Linked DNA regions of Homo sapiens: regions 1, 2 and 3 are each linked to region 4. The links are contacts of gene promoters, found by promoter capture Hi-C in blood cells and fetal thymus (Javierre and others, 2016). All regions are on one chromosome and are shown on one strand. Each heading gives the region's core, a stretch centred on a gene start or on the middle of the fragment in contact. The rest is flanking DNA. Distances are from core to core; before and after follow the strand shown. Region 1 overlaps MOXD1 (monooxygenase DBH like 1). Region 2 overlaps MOXD1 (monooxygenase DBH like 1). Region 3 has its middle 11 kb from the start of STX7. Region 4 holds the start of SLC18B1 (solute carrier family 18 member B1).

Region 1 (4,087 bases), core at 493-2,992, 440 kb before region 4:
CCAGGCTGGTACTGGGGTTTGTCTGCACAGAGCCCTGTGATGTGAACTGTCTATGGGCCTCTCAGCCATTGATACCAGCACCTGTTCCAGTGGAGGTGGCAGGGAGATGAAATGGGCTCTGTGAGGGTTCTTACCTTTGGTGATTTAAAGTTCTATTTTTGTGCTGGTTGGCGTCCTGCCAGGAGGTGGCACTTTCCAGAGAGCATCAGCTGTGGTGGTACGAAGAGGAAGTGGTGGTGGGCGGGGCCCTAGAACTCCCAAGAGTATATAGCGTTTGTCTTCAGCTACCAGGGTGGGTAGGGAAGGCCCATCAGGTGGGGGCAGGGCTAGGTGTGTCTGAGCTCAGACTCTCCTTGGAAGGGTCTTGCTGCAGCTGCTGTGGGGAATGGGGGTGAGGTTCCCAGGTCAATGGAGTCATCTACCTAGGAGGATCATGGCTGCTTCTGCTGAGTCATGCAGGTTGCCAGGGAAGTAGGGGAAAACCAACAGTCACAGGCCTCACTCAGCTCCCACACAATCTGAAGGGCTGGTCTCCCTCCCATCATGCCCCTCCCCCAACATCCTGTTTCCAGGCAGTAGATGAGCACGGCTTGAGAACTTGCCCCAGACTAGCCACTTCCCAGGTGCAGAAGAAAAAGGATTTGGTTCTTCCCTCACCCGTGGAGTCTGCACACCAGATTCGTGCCCTTCCCCAGGTTCTGGCCAGGAGGCTTCTTGCTGGATTCAAATTGTTACAAAGTTCAGCTGGGGACTTCCTTCTCCCTGTGGCATTTTACCCTGTGCCTCTGGTCACCCTCCCAAAAGATCCCTGTGGTACCAAGCAGGGATGGCATGCTTAGGGACCCAGTGAGCTCCCAGGTCCTTTCCCACTGCTTCCTCTATCCCTGTATTTTGCTCAGCTCTCTAAATTGACTCAACTCCAGGTAAGGTCAGAAAGTTCTCCCACAAACTAGACCTTCAGGGGTTGGAGTCTATCACCATTCTCCGGTATGTAGGCTGGGCCTGCTTCTTATGGCAGGAGCAATGGCGTGCTAATCCCAAACCAAGCCTCAAGTGGCCTTACAGTTTCTACTCTCTCTTTTGGAACTGTGCCATCACCATTTGAACAAGCCCAGTCTAGACTTCTAGAGAACAAGATACTATAAAGGAGAGCCCACTTGTTCAGCTGAGGCCTCCTAGACCTGCTTACAACCAGCTGACTCCCAACAAGAAGAGAGAGCCCAGGCACTATTAGAAAGCTGCATACCCAACCCAAGCTGGTTACATACCTGTTTGTAGCCCAGCTACAAACAGAAGAACCACCAAGCTGACTTGTAAACTATAACATGTGCTTCTTCATTTAAAGCTTATTTAAAGTTGTTGAACTTTGGGTTGGTTTGGTTCACAGAAATAGCTAACCAATAAAAATGAATAAAAAATTCTGGTATGTTCAGAAAATGAAATTCAAAGATGAAAATGAACACATTATTTTCTACAAACAACATGGCCAACTTGCACATCCCGTTCGGCAAAAAAAGCCAGACACAGAAGAGCACTAGCGTTTCTGTCTACCTACAAAAAATTCACAACAGGCAAAATTAGTAAAGAGTGATTTAAGTCAGCAAACTGGTGACCTCTGGGGACAGACAGTACCTGGGAGGGGACGCAAAGGACGCTTCTGAGTTGATACTCTATTCTTGATCTTGATTCTGGTTTCATGAGTCAGTTCACCTTATGAAAATTCAATGAGTTTTATACTGTTTGTGCACTTTTATCTAGGCAATTCAATAAAAGAATGTTTTAAAAAGAAATCGGTAAAGGGTTGAACAGCAAACTGACAGAAGAGAGCATAAAAAGAGCATAAGCCTCACTAGTAGTCTAAGGAAAGCAAGCCAAAGCAATCAGAAATATTAGTTTTCATCCATTAACAGGCAATAAATTTAAAAGACTAAAATATCCAGTGCTCAAGAAGGGATGAGAAAATATTCACATACAGCTAGTGTGTGAATTTTATAAAGTAATCTGACAAATATATTAAAGTTTGAAATACATGTAATCTTGATTCAATCCATTTAGCAATCTAGCGTATAGGAATGAAACCACCAATACATAACGATATACTTACAAGAACATTTACTGAAGCAATGTTTATGGTAGCAAAAAGCTTACAACATCTTGAATGTGCATCAAAAGTGTATGGCTGCAAAAATTATGGTTTATACATAATAGGAGATTAAATTATGTAAACATTAAAAATAATGTGTTATAATATTTTGTCCAGTAATGATGAGGGCATTAATTTGAAAAGCAAAATTCAAAGTAATAGATATAGAGTGATCCTAATTTGTTTACAAATAAAAGAGATTAACCCAAAAAAATCCTATATAAATGTTGTAAATGTTTTCTTCAGCATAAAGTTTTAGAAAAATACAAATAAATCTGTTAGCATTAGTCACCTCAGGAAAGTAGAATTTGGAGAAAGAGGGCACTACTACTTTTTATTTTATATATTTTTTACTTTTTTACTTATTATGAGAAGTATATATTACACTGGAAATGAAACAAATACACGTTAGAAAATATTCTCATATTAGAAAATAAAGTGTTCTCTAGAGAAAAAAACTCCTTAATCTTTCAAATGATGAGAGATAAAAACTCAACAGTTGTGACCTCTTTGCAAGATTGTTAAAAGCCAGTCCAGAAGCACATCATATCACATATGAATTTTATCTGATTATTAATTCAAGCTGAAGAAGAAATAAATTATCCCATAAAATATCTCTTAGCACTTGGAGTAAATATAGTTTGAAAAAAATGTGACTGAACTAACAATCTTTTGGAAAATTCTATTTGCTATATGAGTGGAAAATATTACTCAGAGTACTGACATTTCCTGTTTACCACTGAAAAAAGAACTTAGTTCTCTAACCTTGTAAATGTAATTCAACTGTGAATCTTACAAACACTTACAATAAGAGTTTGCCTTACTAAACAAATCAGGTTCATCTGGCAGTCCAGTTCTTAAAGGAACTAAACTTTATCTTAAAAGGAAGTATAGAAATAAAAAGGAAAGATAGTAAAAGTAATGAATTCCAAGTTATAAAGGAACTAATATACCATATAAAAATCTAGTTAAATATAAATATTTCAATTTTTCCCTCTTTTAAATGTCTCAGAAAAGTCAATGAAATCAAAGTGAGTGTCCAGCTGTTCTAAATTACTGGATAATAATATCCAAGTAATTTAGAGCTTTTTGAAAAGCTTTAAAAATTATTTAATTATAGATAGTTAAGAGATGATAAAATGGAGATATAAATCTTAGGTGTATTTTTTGCTTTGAAATTGTTTTATATTTCATATTTTGAAGGAGAGATAGAGATAAGTAATAAAAATTTATGACCTAAATTTCAATCTCAATTTCAATTAATTAACTGGATGAGAAAGGCAGTTTTTTCCTCTGGACTTCATTTTCTGCAACCATGAAATAAAATGTTGACAAAAGCAAACAGAAGGTTTAGACTGTTAGAGGAAAGAAGGATTACTATAAAATGACAATATTTCACATCTATTGTGCCTCAGGTGTTCCATAAACATTTTCCAAATAACTTTACAGTAGTATTGTGATAGGTCATATCTCCATTTTGCCAATGGGAAAACGGATTCAGAAAAGTTCTGTAAATTACTCAAGGTCATATAAGTGGTAAATGGTAGAGCCCGGATTTGAAATCAGGTCTATGTGACCAGAAAGACAGGAAGGGCCCTTCAAGCTTAGGTTCATATAGGTTAAATAAAGTGTTAAAGCTCCCCCTACTAGACTAAATAAATGGTGTTCATAATACACGTACTAATAACACCTATGTGTGTAGCACATTTGCACTGAAAAGAGTTCAACACAGTAATTCAGATCTCAGGCATTAGAATTAAACAAGGCTAGGTTCCCACTCTATGTTTACCACATCTCGCTCCATGACATTAGAGATGACATTACATTTTTCTGAGCCTGTTTTCTCATCTAGAAAATGGCAGAGGTAGTAAGTAAAGCACAGTGTTTGGTACATGATGAGCAATCCATAAATACTTGTCTTCTAAAATTCAATATTTTAAAAGC
Region 2 (4,092 bases), core at 1,450-3,949, 500 kb before region 4:
TTTAAAGAATGATATTTATTTTTTAGTAGCAGATTGGCATTAATTTTATTTTTAATTTTATATTTTTTAATAGATATGGGGTCTTGCTATGTTGCCCAGGTTGGTCTGGAACTCCCAGGCGCAAGCAACCCTCCCACCTCCACCACTCAAAGTGCTGGGATTATAGGTGTGAGCCACCATGCCCGGTCAAAATTTAAACAAATAATTTTGTCTCAGAAAGCTTCTACAGAGTCTCACAATTCTACATTAATTTGGTTTGGTTCTAGTTAAAAAATTAACTGGTAAGCATTCATTTCTGAAAAGTACAATGCTAATGGTGTAATCAAGAAACCTGCAGGTTCCTAAAAGATACTGTGAGAGATGGAAAGTTCAAACCCATACACTATAAAAGCCTGACCCCTGCTGGCTGATCTGTTTTGGCTTAGCTAAGTGAGAAGACAAATACAACAAAAAATGTGATTTGATCAATGCTTCAAAAATTTTACTCATTTCTCAAAAGAAGACATACATAAGGCCAAAAAACATGAAAAAATGCTCCACATCACTAATAATCATCAGAAAAATGCAAATAAAAACCAGAGTGAGATACCATCTCACCAGTCAGAAGGGCTATTATTAAAATGCAAAAAAAAACAACAACTGATATTGGCAAGGTTGCAGAGAAAAGACAATGCTTATACATTGTTGGTGGGGATGTAAATTAGTTCAGCCAACTGTGGAAGCAGTTTGTAGATTTCTCAAAGAACTTAAAACAGAACTACCATTCAACCCAGTAATCCTATTACTAGCTATACACCCAAAGGAAAATAAATAGTTCTACCAAAAAGACCACATGCATTTGTATGTTCATCATAGCACTATTCACAATAGCAAAGACATGGAATCAACCAAGGTGTCCATCAAAGGTGGACTAGATAAAGAAAATGTGGTACATATACACCATGGAATACTATGTAGCCACACAAAAAAAGAAAGAAATCATGTCCTTTGCAGCAGCATGGGTGCATCTGGAGGCCATCATCCTAAGTGAATTACACAGGAACAGAAAACCAAAAACCGCGTGTTCTCACATATAAGTGGGATCTAATCATTGAATACACATAGACATAAAGATGGGAAAAACAGACACTGGGAACTACTAGAGAGAGAGGGAGAGAGGGAGACAAGAATGAAAAAACTACCTGTTGGGTGCCTGGCTCACTACCTGGGTGATGGAATCATTCATACTCTAAACCTCAGTTTCACACAATATACCATTGTAACAAACCTAAACATGCATCCCTTGAACCTAAAATAAAAGTTGAAATTTTAAAAATGTACTGAGAAAAAAAATACCCTATATAGAATACACTCTGCCTTCACCTGCCACTCCAAAAATCACATGCCAAATATTCAAGAAAGGAAAAAGAAATCACAAGAATGACATGAGCAGACAGAAGAAGTGACAGAAAAAGTGAAGTGAAAAAGTGAATGACATAACTTGCTTGAAAAGATAGTTTTCAGGTGTTGTCTTTCATTAAATATAAGTTTTATATTATTGATTCCTGAAAAAGGGAAAAGTGTAAGTGCTGGCATGTCACAAAATTTTACATTAATCCATGGACCTTGCAGGAAATTATCATGGTGACTAGAAAGTATCTGGCACTCATAACATCCCAAGATGTTACAGTAATTTCTATAATTATCAAATAATCTCAGCTGAAGAATATACATTAATCTTCATATTTTTAAAATTTATTTATGTCATTTCTCTCTCCCTCTCTCTCTCTCTCTCTCTCTCTTAACATACATAACCCACTCAGGCACATTGAATATCATCTTTTTAAGTAAATTAAAAGTTCCTTATTAATTTCTTGGAGTTATAAAGATAATTTTTTATGTCTAAATTTGAAATATTTCTTCCATATCTAATAAGTGAGACAATGAGGAAAATAGGTAATATATATAGATCTTTACATTTTTCATAATTTCCTTTAATTAGAATCAATATATATCTTTGTTGAGTTTTAAATGCATTATTTTATACAAAGACCTTAAAGTGAAGCCCCATAAAGTAAGAGCAATCAGCATTGCATTACATAAACATACCTAGCAATGGCCTAAAATCTATAGCATTTGAAAATTAAACATATTGTGACAATTTTGTAGAGACACAATCCAGAATTAGTATCAAGCAAAAACTTGACTTGAAAGAAGTTATTATATTTGCATACAATGTCCTTTTAAAAGCACTAAAAGCTACAGCTATTGATCATTTTAAGTCAATTATTAAAAATAAAATTTACTTTTCAAAAAGATAAAATGCCTAATTTGAAAAAGAGAAAATCAATTTTATAACCAGATAAATGCTAGGGGAAAATCATCAGTCTGTAACCATCTGAAACACCACAAGGTGGCACGACAGCTTTACTATGGTGCTTAGGTTGCCTAAAGCCTCTGGTGCCCCGCTGTTAAGAGTGAATAGTGTGACCATTATACACAGATGAAATCTTAAAAAGCTTTGCTGCTATAATAATTTACTAAATTGCCTATTATTGAGATTGTCCAACATAAAGTGACAGAAGAGGTGTAACCCCATTTGTCAGTTTTTAGAACAGATATGTAGAAAGGCCAAGCCCAATGGCGCGTATGTTGGAGACAGAATGACTGAGGCTGGGTGACCTGGGGATGTGGTCATCAACCTTTCTGAGATGGCATCTTTGTCTCATATTTATCATCTCCTTTCCACTCCCACTAACTTGGTTTAGGCCCCTGTTCTATAATAACTTTATACTAATAAACATCCTACTTGTCATCTCTAACCTTTCTAGCCTATCCTACACACTTCCAAATTATTTCCTAGAGAAAAGAGCAGACAGAAAAAGTGAATATTTATCCTGAATACTTTTTTTCAAAAAGACTAAGCTTTAAACCAGGTAACCTTAAAGTAGCAAGTATTTCTGCTTTTACTGGGATTAGGGATTAGTTGGAAATAATTGGGAATGTTACAGAAATAAAAAGTTACATTTCTGCATATCTTGTCAGTGTGTAAATGTCTCTCCATACATACATGTAAACGAATGGTATTATATATATATATATATATATATATTACTGTAGTCAATAAAAAACAGTGTTATTATTATGCTTTAATATTGATGGGTAATTTTCCTTTGTAAATTCCATCTAAACTCTGAGACATGTTTTTCTAAGAAGATAGCAAAGTTGACTGCAATACACCATGGTAGAGTAATTTTTTAAATTTTTAAGTGGAACATAAAGCTATTTATTCTTATAAATTCAAACTGATCAATGGAAATTTTAAAAGTTTAATGATTTTTATACTTGGTCCCTCTGTTCTATATAAATTGAAAAGCAGATGGAGAAAAATAATCTGTGGTTACATTTCTTATCTGAGCCTCTCTGGACTCCTGTTTTAAAAGTTTTATTGCTAATGTCTTTCTCGGGGTAGAGAAGGAGAAGGAAGGAAGAGAGATGGAAGATTTAACCAAGAAACAAAGTCCATGTACTTATAGCTAAATGAACTATATTACACACTCTCCATCCATCAAGCAAGTAAACATGTGATCAAAAACTAGCAAAAGGAACAAAAATTCATTAACAGACTTCCACTTTTGGCCATGTTGGAGTAACTGACACTAACTTCCTGTAAAAAACTCAAAATTCGACAAACCATATGAAACAGCTGGTTTGGACATTGGAAAATAGCACAGAACTATGATCCCCAAAAGGAAGGAAACAAATAAGGTGTTTGAATATTATGTTCATCCCAGCTTTCTGCCTAGAAGCATTCTCTGAACCAGAATGCAGGAAAGGGAATTTCGAAACAGAAAATGACGATCTCAATAAGTTAAGGAGATGAAGACCAGAGTTAAGGGAGTCTGAAGAAGCTTACATATTCAAGGTAGACTACTGCAGAGGAAAAATTTGTATAAGGATCCTCTGAGTCAGTAACTAAGCAATAAGCCAACTATATTTAGGGTAAAATCCACAAGACTGGGCAATGAACAACTAGAAGATTGTGACCTAAACAATTCCCAGAGCCTGTATAGAGCTAGCAGACATTTGAGCTCAAACTAGCCAGAGTGGAAT
Region 3 (3,750 bases), core at 587-3,086, 270 kb before region 4:
TTCTTTCTTCTATTTCTGATACTGTAATTTGCATCTTCTCTCTTTTTATCTCTTAGCCTGGAAACAGGTTTATTAATACTATCGATTTTTTTAAACTTTTGGTTCCATTGATTTTTTTTCTATTATTTTTTGGTTTTCAATTTTACTTAGTTTTGTCCTAATATTTATTTCCTTCCTTCTACTTGCTTTAAGTTTAATTTGCTCCTTTTTTCTCTTGTTTCTTAAGCTGGAAGCTTAAGTTACTGACTTGAGATCTTTCTTCTTTTCTTATGTAAGCATTTACTGCTATATATTTTCATTTAAGTACTGATTTAGCTGCGTCACACACATTTTGATATGTTGGAATTTTTACTTTCATTTCATTCAAACTATTTTTTAAATAACCCTTAAGACACCCTCTTGACCCATGGTGATTTTTAGAAATGTATTGTTTAATTTTCCAAATATTTGAGGTGTTTAAGATAATTTTATTTTATTAATATTTGGTATATTTTTATGGTCAGAAAACATACTTTGTATGATTTATATTCTTTTAAATTTGTTAAGTTTTGTTTGCTGGCCCAGAATATGATCAATGAGTATTTCATGTACACTACAAAAGAAAGAGTAATATTGCTGTTGGGTGGAATATTTTATAAGTGTAAATTAGTTCAAGTTAGTTGGTAGTGTTTGGGGGATTTTGCTGATATTCTCCCTACTTATTTCATCAATTACTAAGAGAGGAGGGTTGAAGTCTCCAACTAGAACTGTAAATTTCTCTACTTTTTCTTTCATATCTTTCAGGATTTTCCCTATGTGTTTTGAAGTTCTGTTGTTATATGTAAACACTTTTAGGATTGTTATGTCTTCCTGATGAATTGACCCCTTTATTATTATATAGTACCCCTCTTTATCTCTAATAATAATCCTTATCTTGACATCTATTTTGTTTGAAGTTATTGTAGCTACTTCAGATTTCATTTGATTCAGTTTGATATGATCTATCTTCATCTTTTTATGTTTGTCCTATCCATGCCTTTACATTACAAGTGAGTATTTTGTAGACAGCAGAGTTGTGTCTTGTTTTTTTATTCTGTTTTAAATTCTTTGTCTTTCAACTAGTATGTATAGATCATTTAAATTTAAGGTTATTGACAATTTGAATTAAAATCTACCATCTCTCTAGCTGTTGTCTGTTCTATTTTTATTTTTCCTCTTTTTCTTTCTTTCCTGGGTTTTATCAGGAATTTTTAAATGATTCTATTTTATCTTCTCTATTGACTTATTATGTGTATTCCTCCTAAAAATTATTTTTACCTCTTTAAAAAATTAACCTAAATCTACTTTCAAATGAGGTATTTGCAAGGACATTATAACAGTATATTCCCAAATCCTTCTTCTCATTTCTTCTGCTATTGTTATACAGAAAACAATATTGTATGGTTTTGTATGTATGTAGAGTATTGTTATACTCTCAAAGTCATTCATCTTTTAGAGTAACTTAAAATAAGAGAAAAAAATTTTATTTTACCTTTACATATTCCATTTCTAAATCTCTTCAGTTCTTTGTGTAGAGCCAGGTCTATGACCTGTATCATATTCCTTCTATCCAAATAATTGTTTTTCTACTTTGAGTGAAAAGGGCAAGAAAAGCAAGAACCTTAAAGAAGATGATTTGTATTTATGGCACAAACATTTACAATGTCTTATTAAAATCATAAACAAAGTGAAAGAGAATGACAAATGAAGAGAAAATGCCTGCAAGCTCTAATACAAATGTTTTACATCCTGTTATAAAGTATAAGATAGACAAACCTCCTGTGGTAGATGTTATTGACACCTCAGCCAGGTTCTCTTTGACTGCCTCAGTAACCAATCCATAGTTGCTGTGAGTAATCAGCTAAGCACCAATCACAGCTACCTTCTACTCTAGAAAATTGCCCTTGGCCCAAGGGAGCTGCCCCACCCAGAGTCAATATGCGCTGACTCCCCCCAACCTCAACCAATGACAAATTGACATCAGTCCCTGGACTTACGTTGGAATTAATTCTGTGGTGCAACTTGTGCTCCAGAGCTTCCCTGTGGGATCCAACCAAAAGTCTCCAGCCAAGACCACAGTCTTTCTCAGAACATGCTGTGGAACCAACTTCTCTTACTGCCCTTCTCCTGTGAGAATTCTTTCCAAATTCTCCATTCTGAGCCCAAGTTTCTGCTTCTAGAGAAACCAAACCAAGACACCACACTAGAAAACTTAGTAAAAGCTCATAATAGACAATTCACAGAAGTCTTAGTCCAAGTGTCTTGAAAAATAGAGCCTAAGGCAAAACTTTACTTACTAAGGTTTTACAGTAATCCTACAGTAGCAAGAGCAAAGTGTTACAACAAGTTTAGCCTAAAGCTGCCTCCTTATGTATTTTAAGTTCAGCCTAAAGGTTTCTCCGTACATCGTGAACTACAAACAAGTGGAGGTACAGATCATAGCCTACACTTGTACCAATCACTGAGTTTTGGCCAAATGTAGCCAACTGTTTGAACCGTGTTCAGTTAAGGCAAATGCGGGGCTGTCACCAATCCAGCTGTTTTTGTGCTTACTCCTATCTTCTGTATGTCACTTTCCTTTTTTCTGTCCATAAATCTTCTTCCTCTATGTGGCTGCACTGGAGTCTCAGAATTTACTCTAGTTTGGGAGGCTGCCCAGTTCATGAATCTTCTTGGCTCAATCAAATTCCTTTAAATTTAATTTGGCTGAAGTTTTTCTTTTATCAGATGGCATCAGAAATTGGATCTAAAGTAGAGCTTCTAACGACCCCCATGAGCACTGCGTGACCAAGGGAGGTACCCGCTGGACCCATTGTGTCTGTTGCTCTCTCAGAGCAGCTAGAGAATATGGTTAAGTTCTCGCTCGGATTCTGAGGCTCCACAGATTTGTGTTTTGAACACTCTGAGTTTCTTTGAGCAAATTTCTGATCCAAGCTGGATTTGGAAGTCGCGACAGACACTGGACTGGGTCCAAGATCAGAATGGATCCCGTAATTAACTGGCTTGGATCCAGTTAGAGGTCTCTCACATCTGACTCAGTCAGAAAGAAACTGGTAGTAAATGGCATAATTGCAGGGGGTGTAAAATTTGGCTTTTGGAAATTTGCAGGGATTTTTGTGTTCTACCCCTTTGTTTCATTTTTCTTGTGCGCTTAAATAGGAAAAGAAATGAGTGGCTAAGTTGGTCAAGGGAACCTGAGAAAGCCCAATATTTCAGGTAAAAATGGGATCTTTAATTTCTGAAGAACTGAATTCCTTCCAGCTTACACATTAGGCCCCGGAAGAAGCAGAGTCTTACAGAAATGGCAAAATCTTACTAAAGATAACTTACAGTAGAACGTTCCAAATAACACTGCACTGAAGTGCATTTGAAAATGTGGGCTCCCAAATTAGTCTCATCTATAGATGCCTGTTGATATGCAGAAGCTTCTAATAAAAGCTCAATTTTTTATTTAAAGACTTTACAAAAGCCAAATAAAAAGGTTAAGCAACTGATTTTTTAAAAACTCAAATCTACTAACCTTTTGGCTTAGTTACTATGTCAATCCAAAGGATATAGACTGCAGCACCAATTGGCTGACTTCGGGTAAGTAGTGGGGTACATTTTGCCTGGAAACCTGTATGGGTTTGGGTTCAAGGCCCAACTTAGGAAAGTCAGAGTCCCTGGTAAGATGTAGGGGGTTAGAGGCTCTCCCCTCAGTAAAATCCCTCTTTGTTAAAAGTGGATTTGGCA
Region 4 (3,856 bases), core at 166-2,665:
ATTTGCTAAGCTTAGGGCTATTTTGAATATAGCACATTTGATCAAATGGAACACAATCCTTGTACATTACTGCCGTTTTGAAAACGTACTGCTTTCGGCTGGGCACGGTGGCTCACGCCTGTAATCCCAGAACTTTGGGAGGCCGAGGCAGGCGGATCACGAGGTCAGGAGATCGAGACCATCCTGGCTAACACGGTGAAACCCCGTCTCTACTAAAAATACAAAAAATTAGCCGGGCGTGGTGGCGGGCCCCTGTATCCCAGCTACTCGGGAGGCTGAGGCAGGAGAATGGCGTGAACCCGGGAGGCGGAGCTTGCAGTGAGCCAAGATCGCACCACTGCACTCCAGCCTGGGCTACAGAGAGAGACTCCGTCTCAAAAAAGCAAAACAAAACAAACAAACAAAAACAAAAACAAAAACAAAAAACAAAGATTTCTAAGGCAGTATTGAAGTCAAATGAAGTGTAAGTAGGAGAAAACAAGCTAAATCATTCAGCTGGTGAATTAATATTTACAGCGGTATGCTTCTGGATAGACAAGTCCCACAAATTCATAAATAAATACTTTTTTTTTACCCTAATTACTGGTCTTTTACATCAGTTAATTTAACACTTATTTCCAGGGCTAAATTGTCATTTAAAAACACGAAATCAATTACTGAGTTCCAAATATCCAAGCAAATCCATCAGCCATTTATAAATTAAATTGTTTTTAGGAAAAACTTAAGAGAAATACATTTGCTTTGCTCTATTTGTCAGAGGTTGCCATTGCAGTCCAGAAGGAAAAAAAAAATCAGTGCAACATGAGGAAGTCTTACGAATCTTTGTAAAATGTTTGTAGTAGATGAGAAAGGGAAATGAAAGTTAAAAAGAAAGGCAACAACAATGGGTACTTGAAAGGTAACGTTTTACATTTGCCTAATGGCATACTTATTTGAATGCATTAAACACACAGTACTTAAAAAGCAGAGGTATAGGTTAGAAAGTCATTAGAAACCGTGACACATATCCAATCCTGGAACTTTACCCCGTCCAGAGAGAAAAGAAACGCTGGCCCGAACCCCACGATCAGGCCCCAGCCTTTTCCAATCTCTCGGAAACAGATCAAGCTATAAGCAATTCAATCGTTGCTAAAGAGACACGCCGGAAGCCGCCGCTGGTCTCCGGGCTCCCGGCCACGCAATTCATGGTCACCTCCTGGTGCGCGTGGTCCCTCCAGGTCACCCAGCGCCTCCATCCCCGGTGCGTGGACTCCGGCGCCCCAGCTCCCGGCTTCAAGCCACGTCCTTGGACTCGACCTCCAAGGAGCCACTGGCACTCTGGCGGGCGGCCGCTGCTCAGCTGGAACCTGGCATCCCCGACTCCCTGCAGGCAGCGATCCGCCCGGCCCGGAGCTCCCCAAAGCCTTCCAGGACTCTGGGTCCCCGGGAGGAGGCCGGGGGCGGGGCAGGGGTGGAGCAAGGCTCCTTTTTTTTTTGTTTTGCGCCCCCCCCCCGCCTCATTATCTTAATCCACCACCTCAGCTGCTATATCATGGTGTCCTTTTTCATTCTGTGACAGAGAGTGAAAAAAGATGAGTCTATATTCCATACAGCTGTACCCCCCTCAATCTTAAAATAAGTTCAATTTATTCCTACGAAACGAAAGAAAGGAAGCTTATGTAGACACAGAAAAGGCAGGGAGTACCTCAACTGAAAGACACAAAAGTGAATTAGAAAATTAGGTTATACAGGAACTTTGAAAGAGTGAATTATTTTTCACAGTGGGTAAATGCGGTAGTGTTCGTAATTACTGAAGCCAGACACTATTGAACCGGAAATGAATTAACCTATGTGAAGCACCTGGAGTCGAAAAATATTTGCAAGAATACTAATGAATATCGAGGAAGCATGGCGAAGTGGCTAGGAGTGCGACCTCTGGAGGCAGGTGCCAGGGATTCAAGCCAGGGCACTTGCTGGCAGTGTGTAACTTTGGATGACAAGGTCAGTTTCTCTACCTGTACAACTGAGATTATAATGTTTATCTCGTAGGGCGGCTGTGAGCATTGGCGATAAAGTGTGTTAGTAGTTAGCACATGAACATGATGGCTGCTACCTTACTCTCACACTCACAGTTTTCTTGCATAAAAAATAGGTTTCACTTATTTTCACCGTATTTACTATTTGGGAAGTGTTAAAGCTCGAGGACTGGCTGGACACGGTGGCTCATGCCTGTAATCCCAGCAGTTTGGGAGGCCGAGGTGGGCAGCTCACCTGAGGTCAGGAGTTCTAGACCAGCCCGGCCAACATGGTGAAACCCTGTCTCTACTATAAAAATACAAAAAAATCAGCCAGGCGTGGTGGCAGGCACCTGTAATCCCAGCTACTAGGGAGGCTGAGGCAGGAGAATCGTTTGAACCTGGGAGGCGGAGGTTACAGTGAGCCAAGATCCAAAAGAATTGTGTGAGGGTAGCTTTATCGACTGAGAATCTGCCTCAGATCCACTGTACAAGGTCAGTTCCAGTACACAGTATGGCTGATAGTAAGTTTGTAATTACTGTGCCACCTCATTCCAGCCTGGGTGAAAAAGCGAAACTCTGTCTCAAATAAATAAATAAAGTTTAAGGACTGGGAAATTCTTGTTTTGAAGCCAAAGCAAAACAAAAGACTGAGTTACCACTTTGTGCCAGGCATTATGAATTTAAAGAGGAATGAGCCCCATCCAGACTCTGCCCTCAAGTAGCACACCTTCTAGCAGATGAAATTCACACTAATTAATAATCTACTATAATGCAATCGGTTGTATACAAACATATTGGAAGAACCATTTACTTTGGCAAATGGGTCCTGGATGACTTCCTGAGGAAGTGATGTTACCTTGGTTCTTGAAGGTTATGTAAAAACTCCCCAGTGAGGGCCGGGCGCGGTGGCTCACGCCTGTAATCCCAGCACTTTGGGAGGCCGAGGTGGGCGGGTCACGAGGTCAGAAGTTCGAGACCTGCCTGACCAACACGGTGAAACCCCGTCTCTACAAAAATACAAAAATTAGCTGGGCATGATGGCACCCAGCTACTCAGGAGACTGAGGCAGGAGAATCGCTTGAACCTGGGACTCGGAGGTTGCAGTGAGCAGAGATCATGCCATTGCACTCCAGCCTGGGCAACCGAGCGAGACTCCATCTCAAAAAAAAAAAAAAAAAAATTCCCCAGTGGGCAAGTTGTAAAGGAGAACCTAGAGAACCACTCTGAACAGAAAGTTCCACTCTAAGCCAGGTGCTGTGGCTCACGCCTGTAATCCTAGCACTTTGGGAGGCCGAGGCAGGCAAATCACCTGAGGTCGAGAGTTTGAGACCAGGCTGACCAACATGGAGAAACCCTGTCTCTACTAAAAATACAAAATTAGCTGGGCATGGTGGCGCATGCCTGTAGTCCCAGCTACTCGGGAAGCTGAGGCAGGAGAATCGCTTGAACCTAGGAGGCAGAGGTTGTGGTGAGCCAAGACAGCACCATTGTGCTCCAGCCTGGGCAACAAGAGTGAAACTCCATCTCAAAAAAAAAAAAAAAAAAAAAAAAAGAAAAGAAAAGAAAGTTCCAATCTAGCAAAGTTTCCCTAAAGTAGCCTTATGAAATCTTTATGATCTAACCCCTGACAGCTTCTCCAATCTCATTTAACTCTATGCTTTCTCTTCAATCTAACATCAATCTGTAGAGGGAAATTTTCTTGAATGATTTCTTTGATGATTACATTTCCTCTTTTATTTTCTTTCTGGACTGCACTTTATGTGAATGTTGGGTCACCCAAACTGGTCCTTTTACTTATTTCTCTTTTTCTTCTCTCTTTTATTTTATTTTATTTTTTTTAGACAGGGTCTCACTCTGTT

The links. The method cuts DNA at HindIII sites, captures the fragments that hold promoters and counts their contacts. A CHiCAGO score of 5 or more calls a contact.
Region 1: a fragment that was not itself captured here is called in contact with the fragment with the promoter of SLC18B1 in region 4 in 1 of 17 cell types (total B cells); the score reaches 6.0 in total B cells.
Region 2: a fragment that was not itself captured here is called in contact with the fragment with the promoter of SLC18B1 in region 4 in 1 of 17 cell types (total B cells); the score reaches 5.4 in total B cells.
Region 3: a contact is called between a fragment that was not itself captured here and the fragment with the promoter of SLC18B1 in region 4, in 17 of 17 cell types (neutrophils, monocytes, M0 macrophages and 14 more). The highest score is 13.1, in neutrophils.

What each region holds. Positions count from the first base shown.
Region 1 is chr6:132,354,459-132,358,545 of GRCh38, forward strand. The region is part of intron 4 of MOXD1 (monooxygenase DBH like 1); the gene reads right to left. Among named protein-coding and RNA genes, the nearest start is that of MOXD1, 45 kb to the right of the region's middle. RefSeq lists an enhancer at 1-1,112. The HindIII fragment of the contact is 798 bases long and covers 1,344-2,141 here.
Region 2 is chr6:132,298,133-132,302,224 of GRCh38, forward strand. All of the region lies in intron 10 of MOXD1 (monooxygenase DBH like 1), which reads right to left. Among named protein-coding and RNA genes, the nearest start is that of MOXD1, 100 kb to the right of the region's middle. The HindIII fragment of the contact is 406 bases long and covers 2,497-2,902 here.
Region 3 is chr6:132,522,212-132,525,961 of GRCh38, forward strand. No RefSeq gene overlaps it. Among named protein-coding and RNA genes, the nearest start is that of STX7, 11 kb to the left of the region's middle. The HindIII fragment of the contact is 3,210 bases long and covers 232-3,441 here.
Region 4 is chr6:132,797,222-132,801,077 of GRCh38, forward strand. SLC18B1 (solute carrier family 18 member B1) reads right to left here and starts at 1,416. Exons shown (of 14, transcript NM_052831.3): 1 at 1,193-1,416. The coding sequence starts at 1,235. RefSeq lists an enhancer at 1-202 and a silencer at 1,434-1,483. The HindIII fragment of the contact is 1,643 bases long and covers 9-1,651 here.